Linked DNA regions of Homo sapiens: regions 1, 2, 4 and 5 are each linked to region 3. The links are contacts of gene promoters, found by promoter capture Hi-C in human tissues and cell types (Jung and others, 2019). All regions are on one chromosome and are shown on one strand. The core of a region is centred on a gene start or on the middle of the fragment in contact, and the rest is flanking DNA. Distances in the headings are between cores, read along the strand shown. Region 1 has its middle 9.2 kb from the start of ZNF718. Region 2 overlaps ZNF718 (zinc finger protein 718). Region 3 holds the start of ZNF721 (zinc finger protein 721). Region 4 has its middle 63 kb from the start of ZNF732. Region 5 overlaps ZNF595 (zinc finger protein 595).

Region 1 (2,700 bases), core at 51-2,550, 380 kb before region 3:
ATGACAAAACAAGACCCTGTGTCAAAAAAATAAAGTGTGCAGTTTAATAAGTTCCAAAATACATGTGCACCCATAAAGCCATTACCACAATCATAACAATGAATATGCCCATCACACCTCCAAATTTCCTATGTTCCTCGGTAATCTCTTGCTCGACCCCTCCCTGCCTCTTCCCTTCACATTGTTAGGCAAGCAATGATCTTTTTTCTGTCAGTATCAGTCAGTTTGTTTCCAGAGTTTTATAGAAATGGAATCATAACTCTGTCTCTCTCTGTGGCTTCTTTCACTCAGCATAATTATTTTGAGATTCATCCCTGTTGAAGTATGTGTCAATAGCACATTCTGTTTCACTGCTGAGTCATATTCAATTGTGTGGATATGTCACAGTTTGCTTATTTATTCACCTGATGATGGACATTTTCACTGGTTCCAGTTTGGGGTTATTACAAAGAAAATGAAACATTTGTAAGCAGTCTTTGTGTGAACATATGCTTTCCTTTCTCTCTTTCTCTTGGGCAAATATTTGGTAGTGGAATGGCTAGATTATATGATAGGTGAACATTTACCTGTTTAGGAAACTCCCAATTTTTTTCTCAAAGTAGTTTTACCATTTTACATTCCCACCAACAGTGTGAGTGTTCCAGTTGTTCCACATGATAATATAAACTTGGTATGGTTAGCCATTTTCATTTTAGCCATTTTAATATGTGGAGAGTAATTTCTCATTTTGGTTTTAGTTTGCATTTTCCTTATTTCTGTTGCTTCCAAATACAGACTACTGTTTATGTTGGGCATCTTTTTATGTGCATATTTGCCATTTGTATATCTTCTTTTGTCAAAGACATTTGAACAAGAGCAACTCCATCTCGAAAAGGGGCTGGGTAAATAGAGGCTGAAACCTACTGAGCTGCATTTCCAGGAGGTGAGGCATTCTTACTCACAGGATCAGACAGAAGGTCAGCACAAGATACAGGTCATGAAGACCTTTCTGATAAGACAGCATGCAGTAAAGAAGCCAGCCAAAACCCACCAAAACCAAGACGGTGATGAAAGTGACCTCCGGTCATCCTCACTGCTCATTATATGCTAATTATAATACATTAGCATGCTAAGAGGCACTCCCACCAGCACCAAGACAGTTTGCAAATGCCAAGGCAACGTCAGAAAGTTACTCTATATAATCTAAAAGGGGGAGGAACCTTCCTCATTCAGGAAAACTCACGAATAATCCACCTTCTGTTGAGCATACAATCAAGAAATAAGTATAGTCAGTAGAACCAGCTCATGTCCCATCTCTGCCTGTGGTACAGCCAGTTTTCATTCCTTTACTTTTCTAATAAACTTGCTCTCACTTTACTCTATGGACTCGCCCCATATTCTTGCTGGACAACCAAGAACCCTCTTTTGGGGTCCAGATCAGGACCCCTTTCCTGTAACACCTTGGTGAGGCCTATTCAAATCTTTGGTCAGTTTTAAAAATCAGTTTTTTCCGTATACACTCTGGAAACATGTCTCTTATCAAATATATGATTTGCAACTACTTCCTCCCAGTCTATGGCTTATATTTTAAAAATTAAAAGTTTTTAAATTTTTTGATAAAATCTAATTTGTTAATTTCTTATTGCACGCATTGTGTTTTTCATGTCTTATGGAAGAAATCTTTGCTTAATTCATTGTCATAAAAGTTTTCTTTTAAAAGTTTTCATCTAGAGACCACAAAGTGAAGTGATCTGGACCTGGAGATGTTTTTGTGAGCAAGTTTTTAACTAGAAATTTAATTTTTTTTTAGAAATTTAATTTTTAAAATAAATACATGCCATTTAGATTTTTTTTTCTTGGATCAGTTTTTGTAGTTTGTGTCTCAAATGTATTTTAAGTTCTAAAATTTAGTGACATAAAGCTGTTCAGACTATTTCCTTATCCTTTTTACATCTGTGAACATCTGTAGCTATGTCACATCTTTTAGTCTTGATATTGTTATTTTGTGCCTGTTCTCTTTTCTCCCCTGACTGACTAGTCTAGATATAGGATAATCAATTTTATTAATTTTTTTTAGAAAACTAGCTTTGATTCTATTGACCTTTCTCTCTGTGTGTGTGTGTGTGTGTGTGTGTTGTTTTCTATTTCATTGATTTCTGTTTTGGTCTTTGTTATTTTCTCTTTTCTCTTTGGGTTTAATTTTACTTTTTCTAAATTTTTAAGTTTAAAGCTTAGGTCATTGATTTAGACCTTTTTTTCCCCTAATATGATTACTAATGATATAAATTTACCCCAAGCTCATTTTCAGAGGCAGCTCACAAACTTTAGTGTTTTTATTTTCATTCAGTTCAAAATACTTTCTGATTTTCCTTTTGATGTCTGCTTTGACCCATGGATTATTTAGAGCATGTTGACTTTTTATCATGGGTTTGGGGCAATTTTATTGTGATGTGTCATAATTTTCTTTGCAATTCTTGCACTTTGAACTTTTCATAATTTACCAAATTTGCTAATTTTTTGGCTGCTTCTTCAAATATATTTTTGATCCCCTCCTCTTTCTCCTCTCCTTTGGGGACTGCTATCATATATATATATATGTATATATATGTTAGGGAGCTTCAAGTTATTGTACTACTAGCTCACTGATGCACTCTGGATTTTAAAAATTCTTTTTGTTCTCTCTCTCTGTTTCATTTTGAATAGTTTTTGTGGTTCACTAAT
Region 2 (2,700 bases), core at 49-2,548, 360 kb before region 3:
GTGTGTATTTATTCTTTGGAGAAACATTTTCACCTCCTGTTCATTTGTTAATCATATTACTTACTCTTTGTTGACTTTTTGGAGTTTATTCTGGGTGTTAACTTCTGTCAAATGTATACTTTTTACTTTTTTTTTTCTTACTCGGGACTGACTAAATGTTTATTTTAATGTTCAGAGATAAATTTAATGTAGTCCATTTTTCTGTGTTTTTAAATTTGTTACTCATGTAGTTGATGCTATATGCAAGAAAACATTGCCAAGACCAATGTCATAATCTTTCTTCCTGTATTTTCTTCCAAAAATTGTAGAGTTATGCTTCTTACATTTAAATATTTAATTTATTCAAGATAGTTTTTGTATATGGTTCAGGATTTTAAATTTTTATGAGTACACAGTAGCTTTTTGTATCTATGGGTTACATGAGATATTTTGATGTAGGCATGAAATGCATAAAAATCATATCAGGGTAAATGGGTATTCATTACCTCAAGTGTTTATTCTTTGTTTTACAGACAACCTAACTACATTCTTTTAGTTATTTAAAAATGTACAATTAAATTGCTTTTGACTATAGTCACTCTGTGTACTAGCAACTGCTACATCTTACTCTTTCTAATTATTTTTCTACCCATTAATCTTCCCCACTTCCCCCAGTCCCCTGCTACACTTTCCAGCCTCTGGTAACAATCCTTCTGCTCTCTGTCTCTATGAATTAGTTTAATTTTAGCTCCAGCAAATGTGTGAGAACATGCAACGTTTGCCTTCATGTGCTTGGCTTATTTTTCTTAACATAATGACCTCTAGTTCCATCCATGTTGTTGAAGATGATGGGATCTTGTTCTTTTTTATGATTGAAAAGTACTCTGTTATGTATGTGCACCACATTTACTTTGTCCATTCATGTAAGGGACACTTAGGTTGCTTCTAAATTTTGGCTAATGTGAACACTGCTGCAGTGAAAATGGAGCTTCAAATATCTCTCTGATGTCCTGATTTCCTTTCTTTTATGTACATACCTAGCAATGGGATTGCTGGATAATATTGTAGCTTTATTTTTCATTTTTTGAGGAACCTCTAAACTGGTCTCCATGGTCATTGTAGTAATTTACATTCCCACCAAGAGAGTACTAGAGTTCAACTTTCACTTTTCTCCACATCCTCACCAGCATTTATTAATCACCTGACTTTTGGATAAAAGCCATTGTAACTGGGGTGAGATAATATCTCATTGTCATTTTGATTTGCATTTCTCTGATGATAAATAATGTTGAGCACCCTGTCATATGGCTTTTTGTTATTTGTAGGCTCTCTTTTGAGAAATTTCTATTCAAATTTTTTGCTTATTTATCATCAGATTTTATCCTATAGAGCTGTTTGTGTGCCTTATGTATTCTTGTTATTAATTCCTTATAGGCAGTTTCCAGATATTTTCTCCCATTTTATGTGTTGTCTCTTCACTTTGTTGATTGTTTCACTTCCTGTTTAGAAGCTCGTTAACTGATGTGATTCCATTTGTTCATTTTTGCGTTGGCTGCCTGTGCTTGTGGGGTATTACTCAAGACATCTTTGTTCAGTTTAATTTCCTGGAGAGTTTCACCAATGTTTTTTGTAGTAGTTTCATAGTTTGATGTCTTAGATTTGTCTCTAATCCGTTTTGATTTAATTTTTTTTAGATGGCAAGAGATAGAGGTCTAGTTTTATTCCTCTGAATATGGATATTCAGTTTTTGTAACACAATTTGTTGAAGAGACTCCCCCATTATATTGAGGCAGGAAAATAGAGTCTGGAGGCAGAAAACATAAGACCACTTCACACTTCACCTTTCCATAGGGCATGGGCCATAAATAACTTTGTAACTTTATTTCATCCTCTCCATTTACATAGGGCATACTAGGGGGTATTTAAACTCCCAAAAATTCTGTAATGGGGCCTTTGAGCCCCTACGCTTGGGCTTTTTCCCACACTGTGGAGTGTATTTTCATTTTCAATAAATCACTTCATGCCTTCCTTGCTTTGTGCGTTTTGTCCAATTCTTTGTTAAAGACGTCAAGGACCTGGACACCTACAACTGGTAACGTATATTTTGGCCAGCCAGGAGGAAGAAGTAAGCCCAAAGTTTGGGATTCATTTTTCTCTCTTTCCTTTCTGCTCCATACAAGAGCTTTCTCTTTTCATTTCCAACTTGGAACACTTGGTGGGCAGCACCTAAACGTGGAGGCAACTGCAGGTTTCTGGCTGTGGCCTGTGAAACTAATGGGTTTCCGTGCAGAGAAGGCTGACTGCCACCTCCTGGTTTGCTTAAGGAACCTGGGTCTTTTTCATTTTTTTTTCCTTTATTTCTCAGTCTTTAAGTCGCTGTTTATAATTGCCCTGCCCAGAAGGGGGAATGACTTTTTTTTTTATCTTTTCTGCACGTGGTCCCCGATCCCTATGTGTGGCGCAGTTCAGAGCAAACTCGCACATGTTTTAAGGGACTTAAACCTTCTTATGCTAAATTCTTCCCTTACCGTACTCAACTGGCTACGGAACAAAAAGGCCCACCCGGCATCCAGTTCTCATTGCAGTTCATGGCTATTTTTATAAAGCTTATAGTGTGCTCTGGAGGTGCCCACCTAAGGTCAGAGACATCTGACACTGAGATCGGATCCACAGGAGGATACTCTGTGGGTCCTGCGGACCTCAACCTTCCCAAAGGGGACG
Region 3 (2,700 bases), core at 139-2,638:
GGCGCCTGTAGTCCCAGCTACACGGGAGGCTGCGGTAGGAAAATGGCGTGAACCCGGGAGGCGGAGCTTGCAGTGAGCGGAGATGGTGCCACTGCACTCCAGGCTGGGCGACAGAGCGAGACTCCGTCTCAAAAACAAACCAACAAAAAAAAAACAGGCCGGGCGCGGTGGCTCATGCCTGTAAATCCCAGCACTCTGGGAGGCCGAGGCGGGCGGATCACGAGGTCAGGAGTTCAAGAACAGCCTGACCAACATGGTGAAACCCCGTCTCAACTAAAAATACAAAAATTAGCCGTGCGTGGTGGCACGCACCTGTAATCCCAGCTACTCAGGAGGCTGAGGCAGGAGAATTGCTTGAACCCGGGAGGCAGAGGTTGCAGTGATCTGAGATCACGCCACTGCATTCCAGCCTGGGCGACAGAGTGAGATTTCATCTGAAAAGAAAAAGAAAAAAAAAAAAAAAAAAAAAAAAAGAAGGACATTGGTTCTGTCCAGAAAGGCGGGGGCAACTTGGAACAGGGAGGGGGCTTCCAGGTCACAGGTAGGTGACAGACAAATGGTTGCAGTTTCTGGGTTTCTGATAAGCCTCTCCAAAGGAGGCTATCAATATGCATTTATCTCAGTGAGCAGAGGAATGACTTTGAATAGAATGGGAGGCAGGTTTGTCCTGAGCAGTTCCGAGCTTGTCTTTTCCCTTAGTTTAGTAATTTTGGGGCCCCAAGATTTTCCTTTCAGAAAAAAGAAAATGTGGTATATATACACAATGGAGTACTATTCAGCTCTAATAAAAGAATGAAACCCTATCATTTGCCACAACACGGATAAACCTGAGGATATCATGTAAGCAAAATAAGACACAGAAAGACAAATACCTCATGATCTCACTCATGTGGCATCTTTAAAACGAAGTTAATCATTAAGATATTTACCAGTTGTCTGAGGTATTGGGTTGAATTTTCTTTTTTTTTTTTTTTTTGAGACGCAGTCTCGCTCTGTTGCCAGGCAGAAGTGCAGTGGCGCGATCTCGGCTCACTGCAACCTCCGCCTCCCAGGTTCAAGCGATTCTCCTGCCTCGGCCTCCCGAGTAGCTGGGACGACAGGCACCCGCCATCACGCCCCGCTAATTTTTTGTATTTTTAGTTGAGACGGGGTTTCACCATGTTGGCCAGGATAGTCTCGATCTCCTGACCTCGTGATCCGCCCGCCTCGGCCTCCCAAAGTACTGGGATTAAAGGCGTGAGCCACTGCACCCTGCCTTCCAAATTAAAAACTTTTTAAAACCTCGTACCTCGCCGTGGGCGGCGACCGTCGCGGACTCGCCGGGAAGACGGCCCCACGGAGCCGGGAACACCGCCCGCTGTTCGTATGTCCGAGGTGACGCCCCGCTGTGGCGGGCTGGCGGAAGTGACGCGCTGCTGTGGCGCGCCGGCGGACGTGACGCCACTGTCGCTGCGACGATAAGGCCTGGCGTTATTGCTTAGAGGCGGCTACCTGGAGCCGGAAGCGCGGCTGCAGCAGGGCGAGGCTCCAGGTGGGGTCGGTTCCGCATCCAGCCTAGCGTGTCCACGATGCGGCTGGGCTCCGGGACTTTCGCTACCTGTTGCGTAGCGATCGAGGTGCTAGGGATCGCGGTCTTCCTTCGGGGATTCTTCCCGGCTCCCGTTCGTTCCTCTGCCAGAGCGGAACACGGAGCGGAGCCCCCAGCGCCCGAACCCTCGGCTGGTACGGACCCCTCCCCGGCGTCTCCGCTCCCCTGACCCCACATCCCCTAGAAGACCTTTTTTCTGAGCCTCGCTGCTCGGATTTCTTCTCGGCGCTCCCCGGTGGTCTCTTCCATTATGGTCCCCACCTCAGAAATTTTTTTTAACCGCTCCAGCGTCTCTTTTCTGTATTCTTACAACTTTGTGGCAACCACCTCTACTGGCCCCACTTCGACCTTCCTTCCTGATCACCACAAAGTAAGCTGTGTCCATACCTGGGATCCAGCCTCTCCACTTCTACTCGTCCAGAGCTCCCGCCCCTTTCCTGAGCAGCCTTTGGGTCACTCCCCGTTATAGGCGCCCTTTTTGCCCCCTAGCACACAACAGATAAGACCCCTGCCGATCCCCTCGCGTTTTGGTCTCTTATATTCCTCCAAGATGTTTTCCCTGCCTAGGGGCTAAGGCCTCTCTGCGTTAGGCCTCTTCCTAGGCTTCACCTACCCAGCCATATACAGCAAGTAAAGGCGCCCTGGTTCTGGACCACTTGCACACATCGCCAGCCGCTGACCATGTAAACGCAGTATGTAAACGCCCAGCCATCCCGTAGCTGCAGCTCTGCGTTTTAGGTCAAGCTCCCTAAATGTCCCATTCCAGGACCCTTACGTAGGGATTCTCCTACCCCAGTACTCTTCACCATACTGAGGATAATTCACTGCTTGCTACTGTGGGTCCCTAAGATTACTCCTGTTAACCCCCGTCCTTTCCCCCCAGCACTACCTACCAAGTACAAGTCGCCTCCTTTTGGGTTGGGTTATGTAGATATCGCAGGGTATGTGCTGGAGAAGTAGGTAGAAGCTAGATTGTGAAGGTGCTTGATGCTAAGGAAAGTTTAGAGTTCAATTTCCTTTTTTTTCTTTCAAACACTTAGGAGCCAGTTCTAACTGGACCACGCTGCCACCACCTCTCTTCAGTAAAGTTGTTATTGTTCTGATAGATGCCT
Region 4 (2,700 bases), core at 116-2,615, 260 kb before region 3:
GACAGCCTGAGATATGGCCTCGTGGGAAGGGAAAGACCTGACCATCCCCCAGCCTGACACCCATAAAGGGTCTGTGCTGAGGACGATTAGTAAAAGAGGAAGGCCTCTTGCAGTTGAGATAAGAGGAAGGCCTCTGTCTCCTGCATGCCCCTGGGAACGCAATGTCTCAGTGTAAAACCCGATCATACATTTATTCTATTCTGAGATAGGAGAAAACCGCCCTGTGGCTGGAGGCAAGATATGCTGGTGGCAATGCTGCTCTGTTACTCTTTGCTACACTGAGATGTTTGGGTGGAGAGAAACATAAATCTGGCCTACGTGCACATCCAGGCATAGTACCTTCCCTTGAACTTATTTGTGACACAGATCCCTTTGCTCACATGTTTTCTTGCTGACCTTCTCCCCACTGTCACCCTGTTTTCCTGCCACATTCCCCTTGCTGAGATAGTGAAAATAGTAATTAATAAACAAACACTGAGGAAACTCAGAGACTGGTGCCGGTGCAGGTCCTCCGTATGTTGAGCACCGGTCTCCTGGGCCCACTGTTCTTTCTCTATACTTTGTGTCTGTGTCTTATTTCTTTTCTCAGTCTCTCATACCACCTGATGAGAAATACCCACAGGTGTGGAGGGGCAGGCCACGCCTTCATCTGCCACCCAACGTGGGTGCCTTTCTCTAGGGTGAAGGTACGCTAAGAACATGAGCAGTGAGGACAAGTCGACGAGAGATTCCTGAGTACATCCACGGTCAGCCTTGCGGTAAGCTTGTGCGCTCAAAGGAACCCAGGGTAACGATGGGACAAACTGAAAGTAAATATGCCTCTTATCTCAGCTTCAGCAACCCACGGCGGTGGCGCTTAATCCTACAGCACCACCTAGTGGACAATGTAGCACACTGTATGAAATCATTGATTAAGCCAGAAAACAGGGAGATCTTGAGGCATGGCAGTTCCCAGTAATTTTACAACCGGTACCAGCCGGGGAAGAGACAAGTAGGAGTGCCTACCCAAGCTGAGGCTAGATATGAATCTTTCACCTTGAAAATGTTAAAAGATATGAAGAAAGGAGTTATAAACAATATGGACCCAACTCCCCTTACATGAGAACATTATTAGATTCCATTGTTCATGGAAATAGACTTATTCCTTATGATTGGGAAATTTTGGCTAAATCTTCCCTTTCACCCTCTCATTTACAGTTTAAAACCTGGTGGATTGATGGAATGGAGTACAAGAACAGGTACGAAAAAATCAGGCTACAAATCCCACTGTTAATATAGATGTAGACCAATTGTTAGGAACAGGTCCAAAGTGGAGCACCATTAACCAAAAATCAGTAATGCAGAATGAGGCTATTGAACAAGTAAGGGCTATTTGCCTCAGGGCCTGGGAAAAAATTCAGGACCCAGGAACAGCCTGCCCTTCTTTTAATTCAATTAGACAAGGCTCTAAAGAGCCATATCCTGACTTTGTGGCAAGATTGCAAGATGCTGCTCAAAAATCTATTACAGATGATAACACCCAAAAAGTTATTGTAGAATTAATGGCCTATCGAATGCAAATCCAGAATGTCAGTTGGCCATAAAGCCATTAAAAGGAAAAGTTCCAGCAGGAATTGATGTAATTATAGAATATGTGAAGGCTTGTGATGGGATTGGAGGAGCTATGCATAAGGCTATGCTAATGGCTCGAGCAATGACGGGGGTCACTTTAGGAGGACAAGTTAGAACATTTGGGGGAAAATATTATAATTGTGTTCAAATTGGTCATCTAAAAAAGAACTGCCCAGTCCTAAATAAACAGAATATAATAAGCTATTACAGCAAAAAATAAAGAGCCACCTGGCCTGTGTCCAAGACGTGGAAAAGAAAAACATTGGGCTAATCAATGTCATTCTAAATTTGATAAAAATCGGCAACCATTGTCGGGAAATGGGAAGAGGGGCCAGTCTCAGGCCCCGCCACAAACTGGTGCATTCCTTATTCAGCTGTTTGTTCCTCAGGGTTTTCAGGGACAACCCCCACAGCAAATACCACCACTTCAGGGAGTCAACCGATTACAACAATACAACAGCTGTCCCCTGCCACAGCAGGCAGCACAGCAGATTTATGTGCCGCTCAAATGGTCTCTTTACTCCCTGGAGAGCCCCAACAAAAGATTCCTCCTACAGGGGCATATGGCCCACTGCCAGAAGGGACAGTAGGCCTTATTTTAGGGAGATCAAGTCTAAATTTGAAGGGAGTCCAAATTCATACTGGGGTAATTGATTCAAATTATAAAGGGGAAATTCAGTTAGTGATCAGCTCCACTGTTCCCTGGAGCGACAATCCAGGTGATGATAGAATTGCTCAAATACTGCTTTTGCCTTATATTCAAATTGGGGAAAAGAAAACAGAACAGGAGGGTTTGGAAGTACCAACCCTGCCGGAAAAGCTGCTTATTGGGATAATCGGGTCTCAGAGGATAGACCCGTGTGTACAGTCACTATTCAGGAAAAGCAGTTTGAAAGATTAGTGGATACCGGGGCTGATGTCTCTATCATTGCCTTAAATAGATGGCCAAAAAATTGGCCTAAACAAAAGCCTGTTACAGGATTTGTCGGTGTGGGCACCGCCTCAGAAGTGTATCAAAGTGCCATGATTTTACATTGTCTAGGACCTGATAATCAAGAAAGTACAGTTCAACCCATGATCACTTCTATT
Region 5 (2,700 bases), core at 41-2,540, 410 kb before region 3:
AGGAGCATTCATTCTGAACAAAAACTTTACAAATGTGAAGAATGTGGCAAAGCCTTTACTCGGTCCACAGCCCTGAATGAACATAAGAAAATTCATTCTGGAGAGAAACCCTACAAATGCAAAGAATGTGGCAAAGCCTATAACTTATCCTCAACCCTTACTAAACATAAGAGAATTCATACTGGAGAGAAACCCTTCACATGTGAAGAATGTGGCAAAGCCTTCAATTGGTCCTCATCCCTTACTAAACATAAGATAATTCATACTGGAGAGAAATCCTACAAATGTGAAGAATGTGGCAAAGCTTTTAATCGGCCCTCAACCCTTACTGTACACAAGCGAATTCATACTGGCAAGGAACATAGTTGAATGACATTTCTAGTAATCTCTAATTCCAGTGTCTTTACACAGCAAATAAATTGGAGAATATTGCTCCCATATAAACTTGTATTATTTTTCTTATTTTAAATTTTTTAAAATTTCTGTAGGTACATAGTATGTGTATCTATTCATGGCTTATTTGGATTATTTTGATACAGGCATATGACATGTAATTATCACATCAGAGTAAATGAGTTATTCTTCACAAGCATTTGTTCTTTGTATTACACACAGTCCAGTTATACACTTTAATTTTTTTTTTTTTTTTTTTTTTTGAGACAGAGTCTCGTTCTGTCGCCCAGGCTGGAGCGCAGTGGTGCGATCTTGGCTCACTGCAACCTCCACCTGCTGGGTTCAAGCAATTCTCCTGCCTCAGCCTCATGAGTAGCTGTGACTACCGGCAGGTGCCACCATGCCCAGCTAATTTTTTGTATTTTCAGTAGAGACAGGGTTTCACAATGCTGGCCAGGCTGTTCTCGAACTCCTGAGCTCATGATCCACCCACCTCGGCCTCCCAAAGTGCTGGGATTACGGGTGTGAGCCATCGTACCTGGCCACTTTAATTATTTTTAAATGTGCAATTATTTTTTTACTACAGGTTATTTTATGATTATAATAAGTATATGAGTATAATTATAATTCACACATTTCTAAGTCATGAATGCTTTTAAAAAATGTTCCATATTTATCTTTGAACATGTAGCATCTCTTTCCGCAAATAAATGCAGACTTTGGTTTTGATTTACATGGAGTTAAATATGTAAATGTATTGCTCTAAAGATAAAATTTAGGTGTAAGAAAATTATGGGGCAAGCAGTTGAGTTTCTGTGAGAGTTTGTATCTATTTTCCAAGGAAAATAGCAATATTGGAACAAAGATTATTTTAATAAGGTGGATATTTTACTAGAAATCTAGAAACCTAAAACATTCTGAAATCAAATTTATATTTTCTTCTATTACTGTAAAATTTAACGGATCATTGTTGAGACTCTCCCATGCAAATTCTGTTTTTATTTGTCTGTTACTCATGCTAGAGCTATAATTGACTTCTTTCTTATTTTTTTTATTTTTACTTTATGAAGTATTTATTATGTGAGCTGGTCAGAAATTATAATTTTATAAAATTTAGTAGCAAACACAAAATATTTAGATGCAAGTTCATAATTCGTGTATTAAGTTATATTTTAGTTAGGACATTTCATTTTATTGCTTTAGTTGGATAACCCTATATGAGCCGTTTAGTTATTTGTTTCACTTTTTATAATTGACATAAATGAGTTTATTGTGCCAATTTTTTCAGGTAAGTACTGGTGAAACTTAATAATTCATGGGATGTTTTGATATATAATTATAGTAAGCATAAGAAAGTACTGGGTAATAGATGCTCCATAATTAGCCATAAATATTATTCTTTCTGGAGTGAGTTTGTAGCTCCAAGTAAGAGAATGAAAATGTCTATAGTGAAGAAATGGCAGTCTGCATGTGGAGAGAACATCTGTTACCAGGCTGCAAAACTGACTCATTCTGAATTTAAAGAGAACCTCTGATTTTATTTTCTAATTATCTTTAGTTTTGGAATATCTTTATGGTTTATTCCCAGCTATGTATGCCTCACACCCCTTCTTCTTTGTGTTATGGCTACAGTCTTCTCACTGTTCTCTTTTTGCCATGTAATTTCATACAGACTTTCTATGTTCTGATTAGAAGTTTGAAATTTTTCAGTGTGGTAAATTGTTTTTAACTGGAGTGTTTGAGGTTATTTATAGCTTATCAATGCAATGTTTAGATCACTTAATTGAGATAAGTACTTTACTGTCTGCAGGGGCATTGGTGGAACATGAAGTGAAACACCAGGACCTGGTTCTGGAGTTATGGAGGGCAACTCCAATCCCCAGTGTGGGCCCCAGCCTCTGGCACACTGGTGCATGCCAAAAAGTACTCCTCAGGCCACCACTACTCTAATCAGTGCCCTTGCTACCATCACTGTTGTCATCTGTGCTTGCATTCCCCTGGTGCCTGGAAGTTCTGTTCTCCAGGTGGCAGATGACTGCTCCCGGCATTCACACGTTTTTATTCCATCTGTGGAGGAGTACTTTATAATTCTGACTGTCTTCTAAAAATCATTTCACTTAAGATAGCTCATTTAAATGGGATTATATACTCTTTGTCACTATGTTTCTGGTATATTTCACTAAATATGATGTCTTAAAGTTTTATGCTTATTGTAGCATGTGCATAATTTGCTATCTGAAGGTACAGCCATATTCCATTGCCTACAAATGCCATATGTTATCCATTTATCAAGAAACTTAAGTAGCT

Evidence for each region. The method cuts DNA at HindIII sites, captures the fragments that hold promoters and counts their contacts. A contact is called where the count stands out against the background at its distance.
Region 1: a fragment that was not itself captured here is called in contact with the fragment with the promoter of ZNF721 in region 3 in 1 of the 25 tissues and cell types used here (dorsolateral prefrontal cortex).
Region 2: a contact is called between a fragment that was not itself captured here and the fragment with the promoter of ZNF721 in region 3, in 1 of the 25 tissues and cell types used here (spleen).
Region 4: a fragment that was not itself captured here is called in contact with the fragment with the promoter of ZNF721 in region 3 in 1 of the 25 tissues and cell types used here (lymphoblastoid cells).
Region 5: a contact is called between a fragment that was not itself captured here and the fragment with the promoter of ZNF721 in region 3, in 1 of the 25 tissues and cell types used here (mesenchymal stem cells).

The regions. Positions count from the first base shown.
Region 1 is chr4:113,970-116,669 of GRCh38, forward strand. No RefSeq gene overlaps it. Among named protein-coding and RNA genes, the nearest start is that of ZNF718, 9.2 kb to the right of the region's middle. The HindIII fragment of the contact is 4,823 bases long and covers 1-2,700 here.
Region 2 is chr4:137,627-140,326 of GRCh38, forward strand. All of the region lies in intron 3 of ZNF718 (zinc finger protein 718), which reads left to right. Among named protein-coding and RNA genes, the nearest start is that of ZNF718, 14 kb to the left of the region's middle. The HindIII fragment of the contact is 4,199 bases long and covers 1-2,700 here.
Region 3 is chr4:497,768-500,467 of GRCh38, forward strand. It overlaps ZNF721 (zinc finger protein 721), which reads right to left and starts at 1,389. Exons shown (of 3, transcript NM_133474.4): 1 at 1,289-1,389. PIGG (phosphatidylinositol glycan anchor biosynthesis class G (EMM blood group)) reads left to right here and starts at 1,443. Exons shown (of 13, transcript NM_001127178.3): 1 at 1,443-1,722; 2 at 2,629-2,700. The coding sequence starts at 1,569. RefSeq lists enhancers at 675-1,540, 1,104-1,583, 1,541-2,404. The HindIII fragment of the contact is 23,753 bases long and covers 1-2,700 here.
Region 4 is chr4:241,554-244,253 of GRCh38, forward strand. It overlaps the pseudogene ZNF876P. Among named protein-coding and RNA genes, the nearest start is that of ZNF732, 63 kb to the right of the region's middle. The HindIII fragment of the contact is 5,231 bases long and covers 1-2,700 here.
Region 5 is chr4:87,083-89,782 of GRCh38, forward strand. ZNF595 (zinc finger protein 595) reads left to right here. Exons shown (of 4, transcript NM_182524.4): 4 at 1-1,126. The coding sequence ends at 369. Among named protein-coding and RNA genes, the nearest start is that of ZNF595, 35 kb to the left of the region's middle. The HindIII fragment of the contact is 4,411 bases long and covers 1-2,700 here.